Linked DNA regions of Homo sapiens: region 1 is linked to region 2. Evidence: promoter capture Hi-C in 16 types of primary human blood cells and fetal thymus (Javierre and others, 2016). All regions are on one chromosome and are shown on one strand. The core of a region is centred on a gene start or on the middle of the fragment in contact, and the rest is flanking DNA. Distances in the headings are between cores, read along the strand shown.

What was found. The method cuts DNA at HindIII sites, captures the fragments that hold promoters and counts their contacts. A CHiCAGO score of 5 or more calls a contact.
Region 1: a fragment that was not itself captured here is called in contact with the fragment with the promoter of ITGA1 in region 2 in 1 of 17 cell types (M1 macrophages); the score reaches 7.3 in M1 macrophages.

The regions. Positions count from the first base shown.
Region 1 is chr5:50,654,147-50,659,439 of GRCh38, forward strand. No RefSeq gene overlaps it. Among named protein-coding and RNA genes, the nearest start is that of PARP8, 9.8 kb to the right of the region's middle. The HindIII fragment of the contact is 2,329 bases long and covers 1,936-4,264 here.
Region 2 is chr5:52,786,072-52,791,596 of GRCh38, forward strand. It overlaps ITGA1 (integrin subunit alpha 1), which reads left to right and starts at 1,845. Exons shown (of 29, transcript NM_181501.2): 1 at 1,845-2,343. The coding sequence starts at 2,283. It overlaps PELO (pelota mRNA surveillance and ribosome rescue factor), which reads left to right and starts at 1,845. Exons shown (of 3, transcript NM_015946.5): 1 at 1,845-2,343. The region is part of intron 1 of PELO-AS1 (PELO antisense RNA 1); the gene reads right to left. RefSeq lists an enhancer at 1,533-1,812. The HindIII fragment of the contact is 1,585 bases long and covers 1,486-3,070 here.

The DNA of each region.
Region 1 (5,293 bases), core at 1,850-4,349, 2.1 Mb before region 2:
GAGGAAGCAAGAAAGAGAAAGGGGGGAGGGGCCAGGTTCCTTTTAACAACCTGCTATTGTGGGAACTAATAGAGTGAGAACTCACTCTCCATCTCCGTCCAGAGAGTACATTACTCTACTCATGAGGGATCCACCCCCAAGACTCAAACGTCTCTCATTGGGGCCCACCTCCAACATTAGGGATAAAATTTCAACATGAGGTTTGGAGGGGACAAACATCCAAACTACAGCACTTACTATGCTTTTTTTTTTTTTTTTGAAACAGTCTTGCTTTGTTGCCCAGGCTGGAGTGGAGTGGCGTGATCTTGGCTCACTGCAACCTCTGTCTCCTGGGTTCAAGCAATTCTCCTGCCTCAGCCTCCTGAGTAGCTGGGATTACAGGCACATGCCACCATGCCTGGCTAATTTTTGTATTTTTGTAGAGATGGGGTTTCACCATGTTGGCCAGGCTGGTCTTGAATTCCTGACCTCATGTGATCCGCCTGCCTCGGCCTCCCAAAGTGCTGGGATTACAGCTGTGAGCCACCGCACCCAGCCTGTTTTGTAAATTCTTGAAGTATTTTGATTTGCACAAATTTGCCTATGACAGTTTCTTTCATGGATCACTCACTTTCATAAGAAGGAAGAAGAAAAATACATTTTTAATGGGTTTAAATTCACCAGGTTTTCCTACAAATGTTTTTCCATGGTAGTAACTAGGGATAGAAATATTCATTCCAATTCCTGGTTCTATTACTTTTTTTTTGTTAGTAATCTATAAGAAGTTTAAACAGATAGAGAAATTATTTTAAACACAGATTCCCCATGTGGGGCAGTCAAAAGGCCAAAGACCCAAGAGAAGAGAGCCAGATTCAAGGCAACTGAGATTAGCAACTGGGGAAAGAGAAGGCACTTTAACTGCTGTAATGTCAAGTAAGAAGTTTTCAAGAGCCCGTATACTGATAACACTTCAGGCTTTCATAAAAGCAAAACTCTAAATGGAAAACAACAAAGTGACTTTGAAAAGAGTGCTCCAATGCAGTTCCTTAATTCATCCAACTTGCATGTGCTGCTGTTGCTTTTACCATTTTATGAGTTACCATCTCAACAATCCTGGGAAGAACACTGCTCCTTTTGCAAACAGGTGAGGCACATCCTGTTCAAAAGCATTATAACTTTCTTTCTTTCTCTCTCTCTCCTTCCTTCTTTTCTTTCCTTCTTCCCTTCCCTTCCTTTTCTTTTCTTTCTTTCTTTTCTTTCTTTTTTCTTTTCTTTCTTTCTCTTTCTTTCTTTCTTTCTTTCTTTCTCTCTCTTTCTTTCTTGCCTTCTCTCTCTCTTCTTTCTCCTTCCCTCCCTCCTTCCTTCTTCCCTCCCTCCCTCCCTGGACTGACTTGACTTTCTTTCTTTCTCCCTTTTTCTTTTTCTTTTTTTTCTTTCTTTCTCTTTCCTTCCTTTCTCTCTCTTTCTTTCTTTCTCATTTTCTTTCCGTCTTTCTCTTTCTTTTCCTTCCTTCCTTCCTCCCCTCTCTCGCTCCCTGGACTTACTTTACTTTCTTTCTCCTTCCTTCTTCTTTTTCTCTCTTTTCTTTCCCTCCCTCTCTCCCTCCTCCCCTCCCTTCCTTCCTTCCTTTTTTCCTTCTTTCCTTCCTCCCTTCTCTCTTTCATGAATAAACTTTTCTCTATATATATTCATAGATTTGGAAGCAATGTGAAAATCTATTTGGTTCATGCCTCTGGTATTAAGCAGGACCACAGCTAAAATAACCTAGACAGAAAAGAAAAAATATGGCTAGGGCTGCCAACCTTTTTGTTGGAAGCTTGCTAATGTCAACATTACGGAGGCTGGTGTGCCAGGTGGTATGAGGAAATAGACTTGTACTATATAAAATATATGAGCTACTGGCACAGATTTAAAGTGGTGCTGCTGTTGTGGCCACACCTGGCCCTGATGGAATCAAGCTTAGATTGGGCCTGGCGTAGTTCTAGGGTAAACTATAGGATAAGATTGATTTGCTAGGACAGGTAATAACTTCCCTAGAACTGCAAGCATTTAATATAAAGTGACTATGCCACCTTCTGCCAAGTTTGCCATGCAAAACTATTGTTGAAGAATGCTAGCCAGCAGATATTCATCAAGTCATGTCATGCCTTCCCTTTCAAAATCTTTCAGTGGCTGAGAAATTTGGATTACTGTGCTTAATTTTTTTTTTCTTTTGAGACAGAGTCTCGCTCTGTCTCTCAGGCTGGAGTGCAGAGGCGCGATCTCAGTTTACTGGAACCTCTGCCTCCTAGGTTCAAGTGATTCTCCTGCCTCAGCCTCCCAAGTAGCTGGGACTACAGGCGCACCACCATATCCAGCTACTTTTTGTATTTTAAGTAGAGACGGGTTTTCGCCATGTTAGCCAGGCTTGTCTCGAACTCCTGACCTCAGGTGATCCACTTGCCTCGGCCTCCCAAAGTGCTAGGATTACAGGGGTGAGCCACTGTGCCCAGCCTGTGCTTAACACTGTCCCTTCATGATTTGATTTCCAGGTACCCTTACAGCAATATTCCTGTCGCCTTCATGCTTTTATATGGTGGCATGGCAAATATTTAATGGTCAGCTCTCTGGCAACAGAACAGAAGCCTTGCTTTGTACCGGCTCCAATTTCTGTGGTGTAAATACTCCCACCATGGCTGACATCCGCCTACCAATGTGAAATCCCTGAGTGTGAAGTTGGGAAGAGAAGTGCACAAGTGTTCTTGCAAGTTTATGTGAGCCAGCTCCAGCGCACCACTGTCTCTATGCCTCCCCACTACCTAGAATGTTCTTTACTTTCTCCACACCTAAATGTTCTTTACTTTCTCCACACCTACTCTTCCTTCCATACTCAGCAACTCTGACACCCTCAAACCTCCATCCCCAATTCAATCTGAGTTCTACGCCTCTTGTCTGTGTTCTATTTTGCACCTTGGAAGGTTTTGATCTTTCTTTCTTTTAACAAGTACGTATTGGGTGCTCTCTGTGTTTCACACATTAGCTTACGTCTGGGAGAAACACTGTTGAAGAGAGCAAATTACTCAGGCTTCAGGCACATTTGCTTAGCCTCTTACAAAGGCAGACAAGCAGTAAATGTGGTAAGTGCTATAACTGGGCTAAGAACAGAGGACGGGCACCGACATGGAGCATAGCCTGCAACTATAATTATTGCACTGAGAGAGTAAAATTAGAAGAAATCCAAACTGTGAGGAACAAAATCATCCTTTTTTTTAAATATGATTCACCCTCAAAAAGATGAGTGGCTATGCCAGATCCAGCCTAGGGAAATGCAGTGAATTGGTGTAGCAAAGGACTTTTAATCAGACTAGCAGTAGACCAATGAGAGATATTGCCTTCACCTTTCCCACGTGCTTCTCAACACAGAAATAGGTACTTGACTTGGGCTCAGCAAATCTTACTACCTCATCCACTTGGCAACAGTGCTTGTCCCAAAGATAGGCCCTTGATCCAAAGTGGGTAGCGAATGGTATCATTTTTATCCTGAGATTAATATTTAGAGTATGGAGAAAAAAAAGTTATCCTTCCCCCGCTGAGTTTACTAAACTGGAATGTCACAGATTTGGGATTACCAAATGACAATTTTCTCTGTTACTTAAAAGAAACTGCTGGCCAGGCAGGGTGGCTCACGCCTGTAATCCCAGCACTTTGGGAGGCCGAGGCGGGTGGATCACAAGATCAAGAGATTGAGATCATCCTGCCCAACACGGTGAAACCCCGTCTCTACTAACAATACAAAAATTAGCTGGGCATGGTGGCACGTGCCTGTACTCCCAGCTACTCGGGAGGCTGAGGCAGGAGAATCGCTTGAACCCAGGAGGTAGAGGTAGCAGTCAGCCGAGATTGTGCCATTGCACTCCAACCTGGTGACAGAGCAAGGCTCCATCTCAAAAAAAAAAAAAAAAAAAAAAAAAAGAAAGAAAAAAAAGAAAAAAGAAAACAAACTGCCAAACAGAAATGGAAAAGAGAAAAGTTCTGGTTGAGTTCCCCGTTCAATTGCCTGAGTCCCTGGGTCCTCCAGCTCTTGCTTTGTCTGCTAGGCCATCCAAGCATGCTTTACCATTGTACATTGTATCAGTCAAGAAACTGTATCTTGTCTTTGTTGGTTTGAGTTACAGTTATGTCATGCAACCAAATGTTTTCTGACAAATGCAGTGACCCTGGATGAGGCCTCAAGGAGGCAAGACTGGATTGTGACTGCCAATAAGAAAATGTACCCCTGGGAGGCACTTGTTCTGCTATTCCTTCAAGCTTCTCTCTCTGCCTTAAATCTGTCTGCATTCCCAGATGTCACCAAGCCCATGGGGCTTACAAATAGAAATAAGAGGAAGTCCCTATGCAGGGACTTACCATTTACTTGAAACAAATGAATCCAAAAAACGTGATAGAAAACTACCAGCTAAACTGGGGAAACAAAGGAGGAATTAGTCAATTGTATAGAAGGGTCAGGAGAGAATAAAAGTGGCTCCTTAATAATAATTAATTCTTTTTATTTATTTATTTATTTATTTTTTGAGACAGAGTCTCGCTCTGTCACCCAGGCTGGAGTGCAGTGGCACAGTCTTGGCTCACTGCAAGCTCCACTTCCCGGGTTCACTCCATTCTCTTGCCTCAGCCTCCCGGGTAGCTGGGACTACAGGCACCTGCCACCATGACCGGCTAATTTTTTGTATTTTTAGTAGAGACGGGGTTTCACCGTGTTAGCCAGGATGGTCTCGATCTCCTGACCTTGTGATCCGCCTGCCTCGGCCTCCCAAAGTGCTGGGCTTACAGGCGTGAGCCACCGTGCCTGGTCAATAATAATTAATTCTTATTAAGCAACTTAGATATTTCTTTTTGCCTGTGTTTATCTCATTTAATTCTCTTCTACAACTATAAAGAGATAGAAGCCTTTGTTCTCCTCATTCTTCAGATGAGAAAACTGAGATTTTATGTATTAAGAAATTGTGTAGCTTGCCCAAGTTCACATATCTAGGAGTTGCAGTCCATTTTACTCCAGTAAAAGTCAGAAGTTGAGTCTGTTTTACTCCAAATCCCAGTCTCCACAAGCCTTCTTGAGATAAGTGTTAAAATTGTTTGACACTTAATATCACAAAGAAAAATAATACAGAAGTTTCTACCTGAATTTTAAAAATATATTTTTGAAATTACATGGAATCCTGTTCCTAAGTAAGCACTGCAAAAATCAACCAACCAACTAAACAAACTCAAATGTTTAGTCAATTAAAACTTTGTGGGGCCAGGCACAGAGGCTCACACCTATAATTCCAGCCCTTTG
Region 2 (5,525 bases), core at 595-3,094:
AATTGTAACAATATCACTGTTAGTGATGGTTATCACCAATAATTTGTAAGTCCTAGAGGAAATAAAAATATTAAAATTGAAATTATATATTAGCCCCCAGAAGAAAGGTAAATTTCCCAGTAATTGTAAACTTGAACATATTATATGTTAACCCTACTTTATTTCAATATTTTACAATTTCTTTTTGTTTTTTCTAATGAAATATATTGCAATTTGCTAAAATGCCATATATGTATTTGCATATGTATGTATATGCTGTACATATATATGTACACATACATACATACACATGATTGTGTATATATAGACACACTATTATATGTTTTTGAAAACTAAGCAATTTGGAGAAATATCATTGGGAAAGTACTTACTATGATTTTTAAATGTCTACGAATTAATCAATATCTATTGGTTACTGTTCAAAGCACAGAGAGTCATACTGAGAGGCATAAGACATAACTGATACTACCAACAGGGAAACGAGATATACACAGGAAATGAATTCCTTGGCAGGGTATGAGAGCATTGAACACAAACAAAGGAACTTAAGTAAAGTCCAATGGGATTGAACTGTGACCCAACATAATACAATTTTTCTAGAGACTCATTTGTGTAAATTTGAAGACAGAACTGAGAAATGACATTATAAAAACTAAAAACGGGAGAACGAGATTTTTAATGTATTTACTAAATAGTGAATCAGTTCAGATACATAATAGAAAAGGAATTTCTTGATTAATGGGTCAACATACTGAGATCTGATGGCCTTCAACCTCCTTGGGTCTGCCCACCCCATTTTTGACGCTCCTTAAACTTCTTCAACTTTTGTCTTCTCCAGCTTTTAGTTGCTGTGATCCTCTATCTGGCAATGTATCCAGTGAACCCTGTGGGCTTCTTCCTTCCTGTCCCTCGTGTTACCTGTTCTGTGCTACCTGTGTTGCGTTCTGCTCAACGAACCCTCCTTTGGGTGGCACTCTTGTCCTGCCTAGCCCTAGTTCTGCTAGAGATGCTCAATTAGTTGTTGAGTTGAAGAATTGAATTGAACTGTTTCCCTCAGATTCCTCTAAACACAAATCCACTTATTCTTTCTGTCTTTGAAATTCTCAAAACCGCTAAGACACAGCTATTTTGAAAATAGCCAGCATTGGTTGAAGCTAGGGTGAATATGGCTTTTGACTCAGAGAGGTTGTTCAACTCACCAGGAAAGGGAAGCATTGCAAGTTCCTAAGCACTTCTGGACTCTTAATGCATTTTCACTCGTGAAAGTTTCAAGCAAGAAAAAAATAAAGTAGTGCCCCGAGTTCTTTATTAGATTCAATTACCAGCGTACAAACATCCTAATTCACTTAAACAAAATAGCCCACACACATTCCATTTCCAAGGAGGCTGCTTTTCTTCCTCTCTTCCCTTCTCGCTCTCCCTCTTACTGTTTTTCCTCCGTCTTGCTTCTCCTTTTCTCCCCTTATCCTAGTTATCTCAAAGAAAAGCTTATCTGCAACCACCCTTTAACCACGAATTACCATAAACGAAGCAACCCCCCCACCCCCCCATAAGCGAAAGCAAAGCCCTCAGTGGAGCCTGTCGGGGTGGTGGGGACGCCCCCTTTCGTGCAAAACGACTTCACGGTGAATTTCAAGTGTCCGCAGGGGATGGAAGGGGGGATTCCAGATCCTCGCATTTTCACAGACGGCCTAATCCCTCTGCGCAATGGACCCGGGAAAGCTGCCTCCCGTTAAGGGCGCCCAGGCACTGTCAAAGCGCCCTCCCTGCCCGGGCCGGGAGAAGTAAGGGGTGTGAAGGCGGAGCCACTGGGCTGGCAACACCCTCCCGAAGGTCCAGCCCTTACCCGCCTTCCTACCACCTTAGGGGATTTGGCCCGGAGAACGAGATCACCCTCTCAATGAAAGGCAGATGTCCCTTTAAGGTTTGCTTCTACAGCCCGTGGACTTTAGCCTAAACACGGACCCGCGAAGCTGGCTTTATTTGTCCATGTCTCGGACAGAGCCTGGGAAGCTGCCAGTGAGATTTCAGAGACCAAGAGCGCGAAGGGGCGGGCGATGTGGCAATCCGTCTGGGATGTGAAAAGCGTGGAGCGCATTTAGAGGAATTCGACGAAAACACAGGAAATCACTCCTCTCCCGCTCCTGGGCGCCGCTGCCACTGGGGCAGAGGACTGGGAACCGCGGCAGCGGGATAAGTGGCCCAGCCAGAGAGCGCAGCTCCCGCGCCCGGTCCTGCCCTGCGAACCAGCGCGGCCCCCTGGCGCTGAGGCTGCTCCGGCCATGGCCCCTCGGCCCCGCGCCCGCCCAGGGGTCGCTGTCGCCTGCTGCTGGCTCCTCACTGGTGAGCGACTCGCTTTTCTCTGAGCATCTCCTGCTCGCGGGCTTGGGGCTTGGAGCGGGGAGGGAGGTCCTCAGAGCCATGGGCCAGATAGGAAGAGAGAGCGCCCATCCACTTTCGGGCATTCCAGGTACTCAGGCCAGGCTACGGGGCAGGCAGGAGTTTCGCGTTCTGGTTTTGATATGAATTAGTTTTCGTGTCTCTCCAAAGTCCTTCACCCTAGGAGTAGGAGTGAGGCAGCACTGAAAACCTTAGAAGGTAGAATTCACTTTTAAAATTAAAGTTGTTTTTACAATACACATTGTATATTAGGACTTTGCTGAATATTTCCTCCCCTCCACCCTTTTTTATGGCATGGGATGGGAGGGTGATGCTTATAGGGCGCCTGATACATATGCAAAATTCCTACCCTCGGGTTGTTCCAGAGTGGACATTATTGAATTTTCTTGCTGTCTACTATTTAGGCTTTTTTCCCATGCAGAACAAGAAAAGGCAGGGATGCAAGACGAAACTGCCACTTGTTCCAAAATGATGTTTCTATGTCAGCACCCAAGAGGAGGGATATTTTGAAACGTAGAAAGGAATGGTGAACATTTTCTCTGTAAATATCACAGGGCAGTCTACTTTTAAGATGCAAAATATAGTATTGTTATTTGTACATAAATGTGTATTTTTAAGGAGGGGACTTAAAAACATAGTGGAAATGCAAAGTTGTATCCAATTTAGAAAAAGCTTGAAATATAGCATTTTGTAAGATTTTCCCAATAATGAACTCATGGTCAGATCTTTTTTACCAGTTACTGATTGGGGTGGGGGAAAGTTGAAATGGTGAAAAATGGAAGAAGGTGGGGGGAAAGTGTATCGATAGAATCTCTGTGTGAAAGAAAATCACCTTATTAATGGGTTAATTAACAGCTGGCTTTAACATATCATTGATATTCAATTGTTCAGTGTTTTTACTGCTGGCATGGTTATTAGTACTAGTTAATTTAGCATTTTTACCACTAAAAACAGGGTAGAGCCAGCTAGTTTAGACCTGCCTTAGATGGCCAAGCATTGTTAAGTTTTATGAAGATGATTTAGAAGTTGATTATCAGCAAGCAGAGCTTTTTTCAGAAGGGAGGTAATGTAAAGAGAGTTAATAATTAGCTACTGGCTTTTCATCCAAACATTTCCCACTACTCAGGAAATGTCCAATAATCCAAACAGTGGTAACTGCTGAACAGCATTATAGCCGGTGAGTGGTTTAACTTACCAGCTACTGCCACTACTTTTTACACATATTTGACCTATGATTCTTCTCCAACTCAAATTTTTTTAGATTGTATTTTGTTGTTTTTGTGCAAAATCTGAATACAGTAGTTTACTATCCAAGTTGTACTTTTTCATTCTACCAAATAAGCAGTCTCTAGAGTAGAAATGATGAAATGAGGTTTGCGTATCCTCTAAAAAGACAAGAGTGAAACTTGAAGTAACAGAGAAGTTTAACAAGTTACAATTTCATATATATGTTGGTGAAATATACATTGGTGAATCCAGGAAGAGACTTAAAATATTTAGAAACCTTGTGTGCACTATATTTATGCCCATTTCGCAACACATGAGGGATCTGAAATTGGACTGCTTTCCCATCAGTCATTATATTCTGTAGGCTCTTCTTTAGCAATCTCTTTCAGATTTGGAAACTTCTCATCAATTCAGAGTCCGTTTGTAACCTGGGGACTCATCACCATACTTATCCATGCACACTACTGTAGAGCTTATCTTTCTGTCTTCAATTTGAACCCAACTTCCAGTCTACCCTCCTAATACATCATTTTTACTATATCTGTTTTTAGTCAAAAATCTTTGGTGGTTCTTTGTTGCCTTTAAGATAAAATCCAAAATTCTCAACTGACTGCCCTAATCCAACACCCTCTCTCTATCTCCTACTACTCCTATGTCAGTTTCTTATTGCTGTTGTAACAACTTGCCATAGATCACCAGCTTAAAACAACATAAATTTACTATTGTACAGTTCTGTAGGTCAGAAGTATCACTGGGCTAGAATCAAGATGTCACCAGGGCTGCATTTCTTCTGGAGGTTCTAGGGGAAAATCAGTTTCCCTGTTTTCACCAGCCTCTGGCCACCACCTGCATTCTTGGCCTGTGGCCCCTTTCTCCATCTTCAACCGAGCAGGGTAGAATCTTCAGATCTTCCCCCATGACTCTGCTTTATCATCACATCTCCTTCTCAGACTCTGACCCTACTACCTTCCTAAGGATCCTTGTAATTACAATGTGCCTACCAGAATAATCTCCTCATCTCAAGATCTTTAATTTAATTACATCTTCCAAGTCCCTTTTACCATCTAAGATAACATATTCACAGGTTCCAGGCATTAGGTCATGGATATCTTTGGGAGACCATTATTCTGCCTACCACAACCCATAAGCATAAACTGTCCATTATAGCCAATCACTTTTCTTTACTTTCTCCATAATCCTCATGTTCATTTTGCCACTGAAGATATGACCTTGTTTTATACATCGAGAAAAGAATTCCACCTTTCCATCCTACCACCCTCTGACATCTAAATAAACTCTCTACAGCCTTCCAAACTGGGTTTACATCAGAACAACAAGCCACCAGCATCCCAATAAACTTCCTATTTGATTTAGACTGTCTTATATTAGCTCCTTACAACGTTTACTAAAATGATTCATCAAAAAGATGTCCTTATGTCCAAAGGATTGTTATTTTATGTATGTCAAAGTCTCAGCATAAACTGATGTCACATATAAAGGATTTAACTGAAGACAGTTTCATAAAGTGACAGTTTAGAGAGGCCTTAAAGGAACAAGAAAAGAGGGTGGAGCATCTAGCGCAAGCAACAGTAGGGAAAAAAGAACCTGAAGCAAGGTGAGAAGAAAAACCATGACCATTCCTAGGCCTGAGGAGGTGGCAGTGTTAGTTTGATTATGAACTCTAGTTATGGGAGGGTGGCCATTAGACTGGAGTTGTGGTCATAAAAAGGAATGCAGCTAGTGACAAAATTGAAGCCCAGCAGAGAAGGAGTAAGGAAAATAAATATACCTCCTTTCCTCCCACCCTCTGATGTCTTGCTCAGCCTTCCCATTGGCCATCCCCAAATGGCAAGATCCAACCTTCCAGAGAACAAAGGGCAAGACAATCAATAACAGAA